2 separate regions of the Homo sapiens genome follow, and region 2 is linked to region 1. The links are contacts of gene promoters, found by promoter capture Hi-C in human tissues and cell types (Jung and others, 2019). All regions are on one chromosome and are shown on one strand. Each heading gives the region's core, a stretch centred on a gene start or on the middle of the fragment in contact. The rest is flanking DNA. Distances are from core to core; before and after follow the strand shown. Region 1 holds the start of STX12 (syntaxin 12). Region 2 overlaps PTAFR (platelet activating factor receptor).

Evidence for each region. Contacts are between HindIII fragments. The study calls those that stand out against the background at their distance.
Region 2: a contact is called between a fragment that was not itself captured here and the fragment with the promoter of STX12 in region 1, in 1 of the 25 tissues and cell types used here (mesenchymal stem cells).

Annotation. Positions count from the first base shown.
Region 1 is chr1:27,770,863-27,776,692 of GRCh38, forward strand. STX12 (syntaxin 12) reads left to right here and starts at 2,357. Exons shown (of 9, transcript NM_177424.3): 1 at 2,357-2,563. The coding sequence starts at 2,446. RefSeq lists enhancers at 2,077-2,226, 2,193-2,693, 2,347-2,496, 2,694-3,194 and a silencer at 2,607-2,816. The HindIII fragment of the contact is 12,641 bases long and covers 1-5,830 here.
Region 2 is chr1:28,160,995-28,166,824 of GRCh38, forward strand. All of the region lies in intron 1 of PTAFR (platelet activating factor receptor), which reads right to left. Among named protein-coding and RNA genes, the nearest start is that of PTAFR, 13 kb to the right of the region's middle. The HindIII fragment of the contact is 3,366 bases long and covers 751-4,116 here.

The sequences.
Region 1 (5,830 bases), core at 1,107-3,606:
GTTAATTCAATAAATGTTTGTTTGACATCCAGTATTTGCAAGGCACAGATTTACTGCTATGAGAGATGCTCACTGCAACCTCTGCCTCCCTGGCTTAAGCTACACTCCTGCCTCAGCCTCCCGAGTAGCTGGGACTACAGGCTCAGGCCACTATGCCCAGCTAATTTTTGTATTTTTGGTAGAGATAGGGTTTTGCCATTTTGCCCAGGCTGGTCTCGAACTCCTGAGCTCAAGCAATGATCAGCCTGCCTCAGCCTCCCAAAGTGCTGGAATTCCAGTTGTGAGCCACCGCGCCCAGCCTAAAAACCACTTTTATTTTACATGGAGAAAGAAAACAATATTTTTAATTCCTAAAAGAAAAATATCTTTACTGAACTTCACTTTAAATAGTGTCAAATGTAAATGAAAAAAATCATCAGTACTATTATATAGGTAAAAAAGTGCAATTTACATGACTTGCTTAAGATTTGACATAAAACTACAGATTCTAAGAAACGGTAAGGTTTTATAATAATAACCAAAACAGGCTGGGTGCGGTGGCTCACGCCTGTAATCCCAACACTTTGGGAAGCCGAGGCGGGTGGATCACCTGAGGTCAGGAGTTCGAGACCAGCCTGGCCAACATGGTCAAACCCCATCTCTACTAAAAATACAAAAAGTACCCGGGCGTGGTGGTACACGCCTGTAATCCCAGCTACTCGGGAGGCTGAGGCAGGAGAATCGCTTGAACCCAGGAGGCGGAGGTTGCATTGAGCCGAGATTGCGCCATTGCACTCCAGCCTGGGCAACAGAGCAAGATTCTGTCTCAAAAATAAAATAAAATAAAATAACCAAAATAAGAGTCCCCAAATGTCATCCGTCTCTTTCTAGAGACAGGGAAAAAAAATGCTCTCATAAATTCTCCAACGAAAAATAGAGATAGTCACCCTTAAAAAATCCTAAGGCTGGTGGGTGGATTGCTTGAGCCCAGGAGTTTGAGACCAGCCTGGACAACATGGCCAAACCCCAACACTACAAAAAATATAAAAATTAGCTGGGCGTGGTGGCGCACGCCTGTAATCCTAGCTACTCAGAGGTTAGGTGGTAGGACCTCCTGAGCCCAGGAGAAGGAGGATGCAGTGAGCAGAGATCGCGCCACTGCACTCCAACCTGCGTGACAGAGCGGGACCCTGTCTCAAAAAAAATAAAATAAAGAAAAAATCCTAAGGCCATATACAGGCTCATTCACTTTGGGTCTCCTTTCATCCAGGCAAGCAGCTTTCTGTCTTTGCATTTTCCAAAGACTACAAAGCAGGCTGGGGTGGGGTGGGGTGGGGTGTAGAACACAGGAAACGCAGCCAGTTCCCCTTCACTTCTCACTATCTTGATCTCCTCCCAAACCAAAATCCTATGTCTTTCCTTTTAACATAGGCTTACAAAAATGCAGTTTTCTGTGGGAACATTGAGGTCATGCATTCCAAATTACTTAAGGGAACGATTTTTAAATTTTAGGAATCTAGTTCTCCAAGATATCCCGGCTTGGGATATAGATGAACGAGCTATTTGGGAGAGATTTAGACGAGAATGAATTTTAGAGAAGTAGCGAGGTGAGGAGAGAGTCAGCTTAGCGTTTGGGTTTTGCAGTCAAATTTCAGCAAGGCGAACTAACCTCGCTGGTCTTAATTTTCTCATCGGTAAGAGGGAAAATAATAATGCTTACTTTGATGAATTACTTTACTTCAACATTTAAAAAACCGACTCTCCGTTATCTATTCTAATGATAAAAATATAGATAGAGCATCGTCCCCTGCTGTGAAAAATCTTATGAACAAGTGAATTGCGGTGAGGATTCACATAGTATGTGCTCAATAAACATTATTTTATTGTTTAGATTAGAAGAGGGGTGGAGGGAGAAATGAAAGTGGTTTGGAAACCCCAAACACTACCAAAGCCCTGGGGATGGAAGTAGAGAGGAATTTCGGGTTACGATTTGGTTCCGGGTCTGAGTTTCAACGTTGAATTCTCCCATATTTGGGCCTGAATTCTCAGAACAGAATAGGATGTAAGGGCTGAGATCATCTGGTACAGTTTTATGCAAATCGAAAATTCTTGCCTCTTGTCACTGTGCCCTGGCGAGAAACAACACCTCCACCCAAGCTCATCCAATCTCAGCCCCAACTAGGTGACGTCATCTCCCCGCCCTGCATCCCCAAGCCTCGGGGAGTCCTGTCTCTAAGCTACAGTCCCAGCTCCAGTCCCAGCTCCAGTCCCAGCGGCGCCTGCGCACTTTGGACCGGGGCGGGGAGGACGCGTGCGCGCCGCGTGAGGGCGGGGCTAGTGCGCACGCAGCCTTAGCTCCTTCCCCGCCCTTGCTCTTCCCAGTTTCTCCGTCAGCCTGCGGGTCCCGGCTGGCGGCTGCTTCCGGTAGGAGAGCGGTGTAGAGCGAGCAGGTCTCAGCTCCTCGTCATGTCATACGGTCCCTTAGACATGTACCGGAACCCGGGGCCCTCGGGGCCCCAGCTCCGGGACTTCAGCAGCATCATCCAGACGTGCAGCGGCAACATCCAGCGGATCAGCCAAGCCAGTGAGCCGGGGTACCGAGCTGGGGGGCGGGAGCTGTCCCGGGGACAGGCCTGGGTGAGGCTGCCGGGACGCAGGGCCCGGCTGGGGCTACGGCCGAGGCCACACCTGGGGCTGTCTCGGGCTGTCCACCCTGGGGGCGGTGGGCTGCCATCCCCCAATCTGTCAGGCCCGGGTTGCCCGAGGGTCCCCGGCCCCAGCTGAAGCTTGAGCTGCTTCTCTGGAGTTCTGCCCCCACGGTGCTGGGACCAAAACAGCCGACTTGACAGCCCGAGGGTGGGAAGGGGAGTGTGTGTCACCTCGAGAGCTGTGAGTGCGTTGACTTGGCGCAGTGGTCAGCCGAGTTTCTCCTGTCACCCACCTTCCTCCCCACCCACCTCGCTTTCCTCTTAGACCAGTTTGGATGGGGTTGTTTACTGATTTAGCCTTTAGGTTTACATTCTGCTCAGCCCCTGGCTCCTCGGAAATCAGCAACTTTCAATTAAGGGAAGTGGAGAGTGCATGTGTTTGGGTGACTTCATACACAGTTCTTCCTGTAATGAATTCGGAAATCAGACACAATGACTGGTATTTGAAAGGTGGGATGACTTCATTTTAATAAAGAGAATTCACCAACAGCATTTCAATTTACATTATTTTGTCTTTTGTAACAAATAATTGGGGTGTATTTTTGGATTTCAGGCAGATGAGGCTTTTGTTTTCCTTCCCTACTTAGCTGCTCTTGAACAAATCTGGTACACAGGGAAGCTAAGACACTTAGCCACAACCACATAGCAAGTAAGGCATGGTAGAGTTGTTGGTGGAATTCAGAATGCTATTGCTTGTCTTAAAACTCCCTCCTCCCCATTAGGGTCTGAGTGAAACTGTAGCTGAATGAGTCAAATACAGGGTGTTTCTTGTGCTTGAAAATCATCTTGGAGCCTTATAAACAGGAGATCAGCAGCAGCTTTACTTGGAAAGAATGGTGGTCATCATCCTTGTTGTTTATTATTGTTTTGTGAGCTTGGCGTACTCTGTTAATAGGTAGAACTAGTTAGTCCTGAATTACAATTATATTCTATATTTTAAAGAGTGTCACTTTGCTTTCGTTTTTAAACTTTTAAAAATTTTTCTTTTTTGTAGAGATGAAGTCTTGCTATGTTGGCCAGGCTGGTCTCAAACCCCTGGGCACAAGCACTTCTCCCACTTTAGCCTCCCAAAGTGCTGGGATTACAGGCGTGAGCCACTGTGCCTAGCCTAATTTTTTTGATTTAAAATATTTTTAATTTATTTTTTCGAGACAGAGTCTACTTCTGTCACCCAGGCAGAATGCAGTGATCTGAGTGAAGTGGTACAATCCTAGCTCACTATAACCTTGAATTCCTGATCAGCTTGCTGAGTAGCAAGGACTACAAGGATGCATCTACCGTGCCAGGCTAATTTTTAAATTTTTTGTAGGGATGGGGTCTCACTATGTTGCCCAGGCTCACTTTGCTTTTAAATCTAAATGTATATTGTAGAATTTGAGAAGTAGAAAGTTTCTGATCAAAAGGGATTGAGACTCTGGAAGTGAAAGGAAGAATATGTGGCCTGTTAAAATCCAGAAGTAAAAAAAATTAATATGACCACTGGTTAGAAAGTATAGTACTGTTTGTTCCAGTTTCCTTTTGTGAAGGAGCTGTAATACAGGTTAGATCAGAAAATTCTAGTTCAAGGCTGAAATTTTCTTGTTGAAGCTAAATCTAATTTTAATATCTATTTGCGAAATATTCATTCAACATGTATCCATCTATCCATCTTCGTGTGTATTTTATATATATATAAAACCAGAATACTCCCAAAGGTAGATCCGACATACAGTTTTAAATTTAAATTTAAATTTTTATTTTGAGACAGGGTCTCACTCTGTCACCCAGGCTGGTATGCAGTGGCATGATCTCAGCTCACTGCAGCCTCAACCTCCCTGGCTCAAGCAGTCCTCCTGCCTCAGCCCTACAAGTAGCTGGGACTACAGGTGTGCACCACCACGCCCGGCTAATTTTTATATTTTTTGTAGAGATGGAGTTTCACCATGTTGTCCAGTCTGGTCTTGAACTCCTGTGCTCAAGTGATCCACCCACCTTGGCCTCCGAATAGGCCAGGATTACAGGCATGAATCATCATGCCTGGCCTTCAACATATATTTATTTGAGTATGTAGTAAGTATAAGAACTGGCATGGATCTTTCAACAGGGAACCTGCAGAGTTCATAACCAAAATATAAAGTTGAAAGGGATTGGTGCTATAGAAGACATATAAATAACATGCAGGTATTCTGGGAAGAGAGAGATTGTTTTTAATTGAGAAGGCATTATGGCATTTGAGTTATGTCTGGAAAGAGGATGGAAAGATTTGGACCTTCGAAGGTAAAGAGGAGAAGAGCATTCCAGGAGGGAATAAAATGAACAGGCATCATAGTGGGGAAGCATAGAGTATATCTAGAAGAGTAATTTAATTTGGCTAGAGTGGTGGATTCCAGAAAGTAGTGGGAAAAAAGGATTGAAAGGTAAATTGTGGCCCAAACATGAAGGATGTTAAATGCTAAGCTAAGGGGCTTGGATTTAGTTATTTAGGAAAGTGCGAATTGAATTCAAAGGGAGAGACTGGAATCAGAGATACCAGTTAGGGCTGTGAAAATGAAAAGAAAGGAAAGGATAGGAGAGGTTTCCTTGGTGATAGAATTGGTAAGATTTAGCTATTGATTGGGCATTGGGCCTCAGGGGATCATTTAAGTCAACTGTTAGTAATATTAATAGCTAACATTTGAGTACATACTGTGTTCCAGGCAGTATGAAAAGTGCTTTACATACATTATCTTATTTTATAACAACTCTGAAGCACCAGTATCATTTCCATGTTATGTATTAGGAAACAAACTAAGAAAGGTTAAATAGTTGCCCTGCTAACAAATGACAATATCTGAATTTGAAACTAGGTCTCTTATGACCAGCAATTTGTCTTTTTATTACTTTTTATTAATATTACAGTTCTGGGCTGTGCTCAGTGGCTCACACCTGTAATCCCAGCACTTTAGGAGGCCAAAGAGGGAGGATTACTTGAGGCCAGGAGTTTGACACTAGCCTGGACAACATAGTGAGACCCCATCTCTACAAAAAAAAAGTTAAAAATTAGCCAGACATGGTAGCATGTGCCTGTAGTCCTAGCTACTCAGGAGGCTGAGGCTGGAGAATCTCTTGAGCCCAGGAGTTGGAGGCTGCAGTGAGCTGTGATTATGCCACTGTACTGCAGCCTG
Region 2 (5,830 bases), core at 1,184-3,683, 390 kb after region 1:
TCTGGGCCTGAGAGCTTGCACTTTCATTACTTTATTCATGCTGTTTCCTCTGCCAAGAAATCCTCCCTTCCTTGTCATTGTCTGGATGTTTACTAGAACATTCTTTAAGATTGCTCAGACCTCATTTCCTCCAAGTAGCTCTTTCTAAGACTCCTGGCCTCCTGCACACCCAGCTCCACCCGCGGTCTGGTTAAGTGCCCATTCTTTGGACTTCCGTAGCTCATAGCTCTTTATCCCACTGAAATTGCCTCTATGTGACCTCTCTGCCAACCAGAGGCAGAGACAATGTCCATGCATTCACCTCACAGTTATTGACATCCTTCTGGGTGTTGGGCACTATGTTGGGGAGACTGCAGAAACAAAACAAAGTTCCTGCTCTCGAGGAGCTTACATTCTAGTTGGGGGAAACAGTCAAAAATAAGTGGAGCAACAAATAAGATAATTTCAAATTGTGATGAATTTAATGAAGGAAATAAAAATAGTAACATGAAGATAGGGTAGATGGCTTTTTTTTTATTTTTATTTTTTAATAAATAGAGACAAGGTCTCACTATGTTGCCCAGGTTGGTCTTGAACTCCTGAGCTCAAGTGATCTGCCTGATTTAGTCTCCCAAAGTGCTAGGATTACAGGCATGAGCCACTGCACCCAGCTGGTGGCTGTTTTAAGTAGAATGACCAGGAAAGGCTTCTTGGAGGAGGTGACATACAAACAAAACCACAGACAGCTTTACCATGAAGTCAATGAAGCTTAAGCTTTAAGGCCCTCTCCTAGGCCCTGTATCTAATTGTATATTTGTAATTTGGTATCTTCAAAGGGGGGCCCTTCAAATTGTATAAGCTTTAGTAACCTATAAAATCTGTGTCTACCCCTGGCTGAACTCTAAAAAAGAAAAAAGGAACAAGTAAGAGGACGATCTGGATTATTCCAGCCAGAGAGTATCATGTGCAAAGGGCCTGTAATGGGAATAATTTCATCATGTTCTGAAGTAGGAACAAGAAACTGAAAGGTTGGTGTGGCCCTAGGGGAGTGAGAAATGGGAAGAGTGGGATGTGATCAGAGGACACCTGGCTGCAGATCACTCCTGAGCCATGGTAAGGAGTTGGGATTTTATTCTGTGAGCCTCGGAGAGCTGCTTCAGTGTCGCTAAGCAGGCAAGTAACATGATCGGACTCGCTCTAGCTGTCAGGTAGAGAATAGATGGTAGGGAGCAAGCGTGGAAACAGCAAGAGCATTTTGGAGGTCAGAGATGGTGGTGGCATGGACCAGAAAGTGGCATTTTCAATTCCTCTCCCCGTCCCCTGTACTCAGGGAGCTTGGCTGGGGCAAAAGTTTGGTAAACATTTGTCAGGTGAACAAACACCCAGCAACCGACAGGATTGCCTACTCCCCAGACAGAGCAGCTGCCACACAAGGCAGAGTGAGCCCTCTACAAACTCAGGACTCAAACTGTGGTCCTTGGACGAGCAGCATTGGCACCACCTGCAAGCTTGTTAGAAATGCAGAATCTTGGGTCCCACCCCAGATCTCCTGTATCAGAATCTGTATGTTGGCCGGGCATGGTGGCTCACGCCTGTCATCCCAGCAGTTTGGGAGGCTGAGGCAGGTGGATCACTTGAGGTCAGGAGTTCGAGACCAGCCTGACCAACATAATGAAACCCCCTCTCTAATAAAACTACAAAAATTAGCCAGGCATGGTGGTGGGTGCCTGTAATCCCAGCTACTCTGGAGGCTGAGGCAGGAGAATAATTGCTTGAACCCAGGAGACAGAGGTTGCAGTGAGCCAAGATCACACCACTGCACTCCAGCCTGGGCGACAGAGCGAGACTTTGTCTCCAAAAAAAAAAAAAAAAAAAAAAAGACTCCATATGTTAATAAGATTCCCAGGCGATTCGTGCACGCACCGAAATCTGAGACATGTTGTACCCCAACAACTGCCAGCCACACACTTGCCTGGGCTAACATCTTCCGTGGCTCCCCTGGCCCAGGATCAAGTCTAAGCTCCTTTCCCATCTTATTTTCCACCATTCCCCGCTACTCATTTTCTACTCTTGCTGCACTGAATTTCTCGCTGCTTCCCTAAAAACTCCATTTTTCCTCAAATCTCTTTGCCTTTCCAGCAGCCTGCTTTTGCCTATTGCTTTACCTAGAAAAATCTTACTCATCTTAAGACCTAATCTGAAAAAGCACTTCCTCTGGGATGCCTTCCCTGATCGCCACAGGCAAAATGAGTTGCCTTCTTCTCTGGGTCCCTATGCACTGGGCGCATTCCTCAGTCTAGCACCTGATACAGTATGTTTTAAGTATTAATTTCTGTGGCTGTTTCCTTGTCAGACTGGGCACTTCCTGAGGGCAGGGACTAGATCTTTTTCATCTCTTCAATCCCAGTGTCGGGCACCGAGGAATGAATGGATGAGTGGCCATGCCCTGATGATGGCTCCGAAATCCCCGGCACAAAGGAAGTGTGCACAGTCTCCCCAGGGGAGCTGTACTGGGGTGGAGTGGGTTAGGGAGAACAAGGTCTCTGGAGTCAGAAAGGTCTACAGGTTCATACCTGGCTTACCATTTACTTGCTGTATGACCTGGGGCAAGTGACCTCGCCTCTCTAACCTTCAATGTCTTCATTTGCAAAATCTTACAATCCTAACAATGGTTTCAAAGATAAGTATGCAAAGTGGCTGGAACAGGACCTGAGCCACAAATGACCAAGCCTCCCTCTCCCCACTGGCCCAGCTGCTTGGAGCCAGGGGAGGGGACTGTGGGCCAACATTGACCTAGGGGCTTTGACCTACACACTGGCTTTCCTGCCAGCTCCAGATAGAGCCTCCAGCTAATGGCAACAAAGCTTTCAACAGCTCAGGAAGAGGATGAACATTTGGAAAGAAAAGAAGAGGCTCAGACCACTCAGTTTAACACATGGGCACAGTTCCCTGATGGATCGAGGCTGGGCAGCTGGCCCAGGCACAGCCTTCAGCTGGGGGTGGGGTAGAGAGGCCATAAATATTCATGAGACAGAAGAATTCTGCTGTCTGGATCTGGTACCCTTTTCCCTGTGCAGCATTCGGCCCTCATCCCTGCTGGAAACATTCCCAGTCCCTAGGGAACCTGGAGAAGGGGTTCTCATCCATAGCTGGACAGCCAGAGAGGAGGGACCATCGGGAGATGGACAGAAGGAGGTATGTGCTGGTTGATTTCCCAGGCCAGATTGTGGGTTGGGAAGTTGGGTTCACCAGTCCTGCTAGCTCTTAACATTTGTGGGGCCAGTTGAGGTCAAAAGTACAAAATTCTAAATATTTATAAGCTATAAATAAGATACATCCAAGTTCATCCACAGCTCCTGCACCAGCAGTTCCTTGCAGCCCCGCAGGCCTGAGGGTGCATTCACCAACAGGGCAAGGACTAGAAGTGGTGAAGGCGGGGGAACACCACATTCCAAGTGGGCACACTCTCTTGGATCCAAGTACTCCTTGCTCTGTGGGGATCATGAGGCTGGAGCCCCCCTAATTTCAAGACACTGGGCACCATTTACTGGTATACAGTACATCTTGCCTATGATCATATTTCCTCCTCAGATCATCTTCGTGAGGCTGGTTTTACAAGATACCTAATTTTCTAGGGGTAAAAAGTGAGACTAGAGAAGAAAATAGATTTGTCCATAGTCACACAGCGGGGAAGTGGCAGACTTGGGATTTTGAACTCCAAGGTTCATTCTGACTCTCCTAGAACAAGCTGTGTCCCCTGCTAGAAGCAAACTGCTCCTTGGCCAGCTTGTCCACTCACAGACCTGTCTTACAGCCTGAGAATGGGAGCTCCAGATGCTGTGAGGCCCCAGGAAGAGATGCCTTTGACCTGGGGCCCTGCTTTTACCTTTGTTCCTCAAAGCTGGGAAGGGAATGCGACAAAGGGATGGCATGACCTGCTCTGTATCCATCTGACTCCCGCCTGGTAGGGCGAGAGCTGGGTCAGATCCTGGTTCAACCACTAAGCTCATCCTGTGATTCTGAGTCTCTGTTTCCTCATTTGTAAATGAAGATTTTTATATGGACTAAGAGAAAAGGATATTAAGAAAACAATCTTATTTACAACAGTATTCAAAAAAAATAACATACTTAGAAATAAACTTAACCAGCCAGGCACGATGGCTCATGCCTATAATAATCCCAGCACTCCGGGAGGCTGAGGCAGGCAGATCACTTGAGTTCAGGAGTTTGAGACCAGCCTGGCTAACATGGTGAAACCCCATCTCTACTAAAAATACAAAAATTAGCTGGGCGTGGTGGCGCATGCCTGTAGTCCCAGCTACTCAGGAGGCTGAGCCAGGAGAATCACTTGAACCGGGAGGCGGAGGCTGCAGTGAGCCAAGATCATGCCACTGCACTCCAGCCTGGGCGACAGAGCAAGACTCTGTCTCAAAAAAAAAAAAAAAAAAAAAAGGAAAAAAAAAAAAGAAACAAACTTAACCAAGGAGGCAAAAGACTTGTACATTGAAAACTACAAAACATTGCTGAAGGTCAGGCGCGGTGCCTCACGCCTGTAATCCCAGCACTTTGAGAGGCCGAGACAGGCGGATCACGAGGTCAGGAGATCGAGACCATCCTGGCTAACACAGTGAAACCCCGTCTCTACTAAAAATACAAAAAATTAGCCAGGCGTGGTGGCAGGCGCCTGTAGTCCCAGCTACTCGGGAGGCTGAGGCAGGAGAATGGCATGAACCCAGGAGGCGGAGCTTACAGTGAGCCGAGATCGTGCCACTGCACTCCAGCCTGGGTGACAGAGCGAGACTCTGTCTAGGAAAAAAAAAAATTGCTGAAAGAAATTGAAGATGACACAAATAAATGGAAAGACATCCCAAGTTCATGGATTGGAAGACTTAATATTATTAAAATGTCCATACCACCCAAAGTGATCTACAGGTTCAATGCCATTCTACCAAAATCCCAGTGTAATTTTTACAGAAATTTTTTAAAAATTGTAAAATTCATATGAAACCTCAAAGGACAACAAATAGTCAAAACAATCTTGAGAAAGAAGAACAAAACTGAAAGACAACTCCTGATTTCAAAACATATTACAAAGCTACAATAATCAAAATGGTTTGGACTGGCATAAAGACAGACACATAGATCAATGGGACAGAATAGAGAGACCCAAAATAAACCCTCACATACATAGTCAAATAATCTTTGACAAGAGGACCATGATTACACAATGGGGAAAGAATAGTCCCTTCAACGAAAAGTGCTGGGAAAGATGGATATCCACATGCAGAAGAATGAAGATGGGCTCTTATCTTACACCATATATTATACAAAAATTAACTTAAAATGGATTAAAGACCTAAACATAAGACCTGAAACTATAAAACTCCTCAAAGAAAACATAGGATAAAAGCTTCTTGGCGGGGTGTGGTGGTTCACGCCTGTAATCCCAGCACTTTGTGGGGCTAAGGTGGGCAGATCACCTGAGGTCAGGAGTTGAAGACCAGCCTGGCCAACATGGTGAAATCCCGTCTCTACAAAAATACAAAAAGTAGCCAGGCATGATGGCGGGTGCCTGTAATCCCAGCTACTCGGGAGGCTGAGGCACGAGAATCACTTGGACCAGGGAGGCGGAGGTTGCAGTGAGCCAAGATCGTGCCATTGCACTCCAGCCTGGGAAACAGAGCAAGACTCCATCTCAAAAAAAAAAAAAGCTTCACAACAGGCCAGATACAGTGGCTCATGCCTGTAATCCCAGAACTTTGAGAGGCCTAGGTAGGAGGATTGCTTGAAGCCAGGAGTTTGGGATCAGCCTGGGCAACGTAGCAAGATCTTGTTTCTACACAAAATTTAA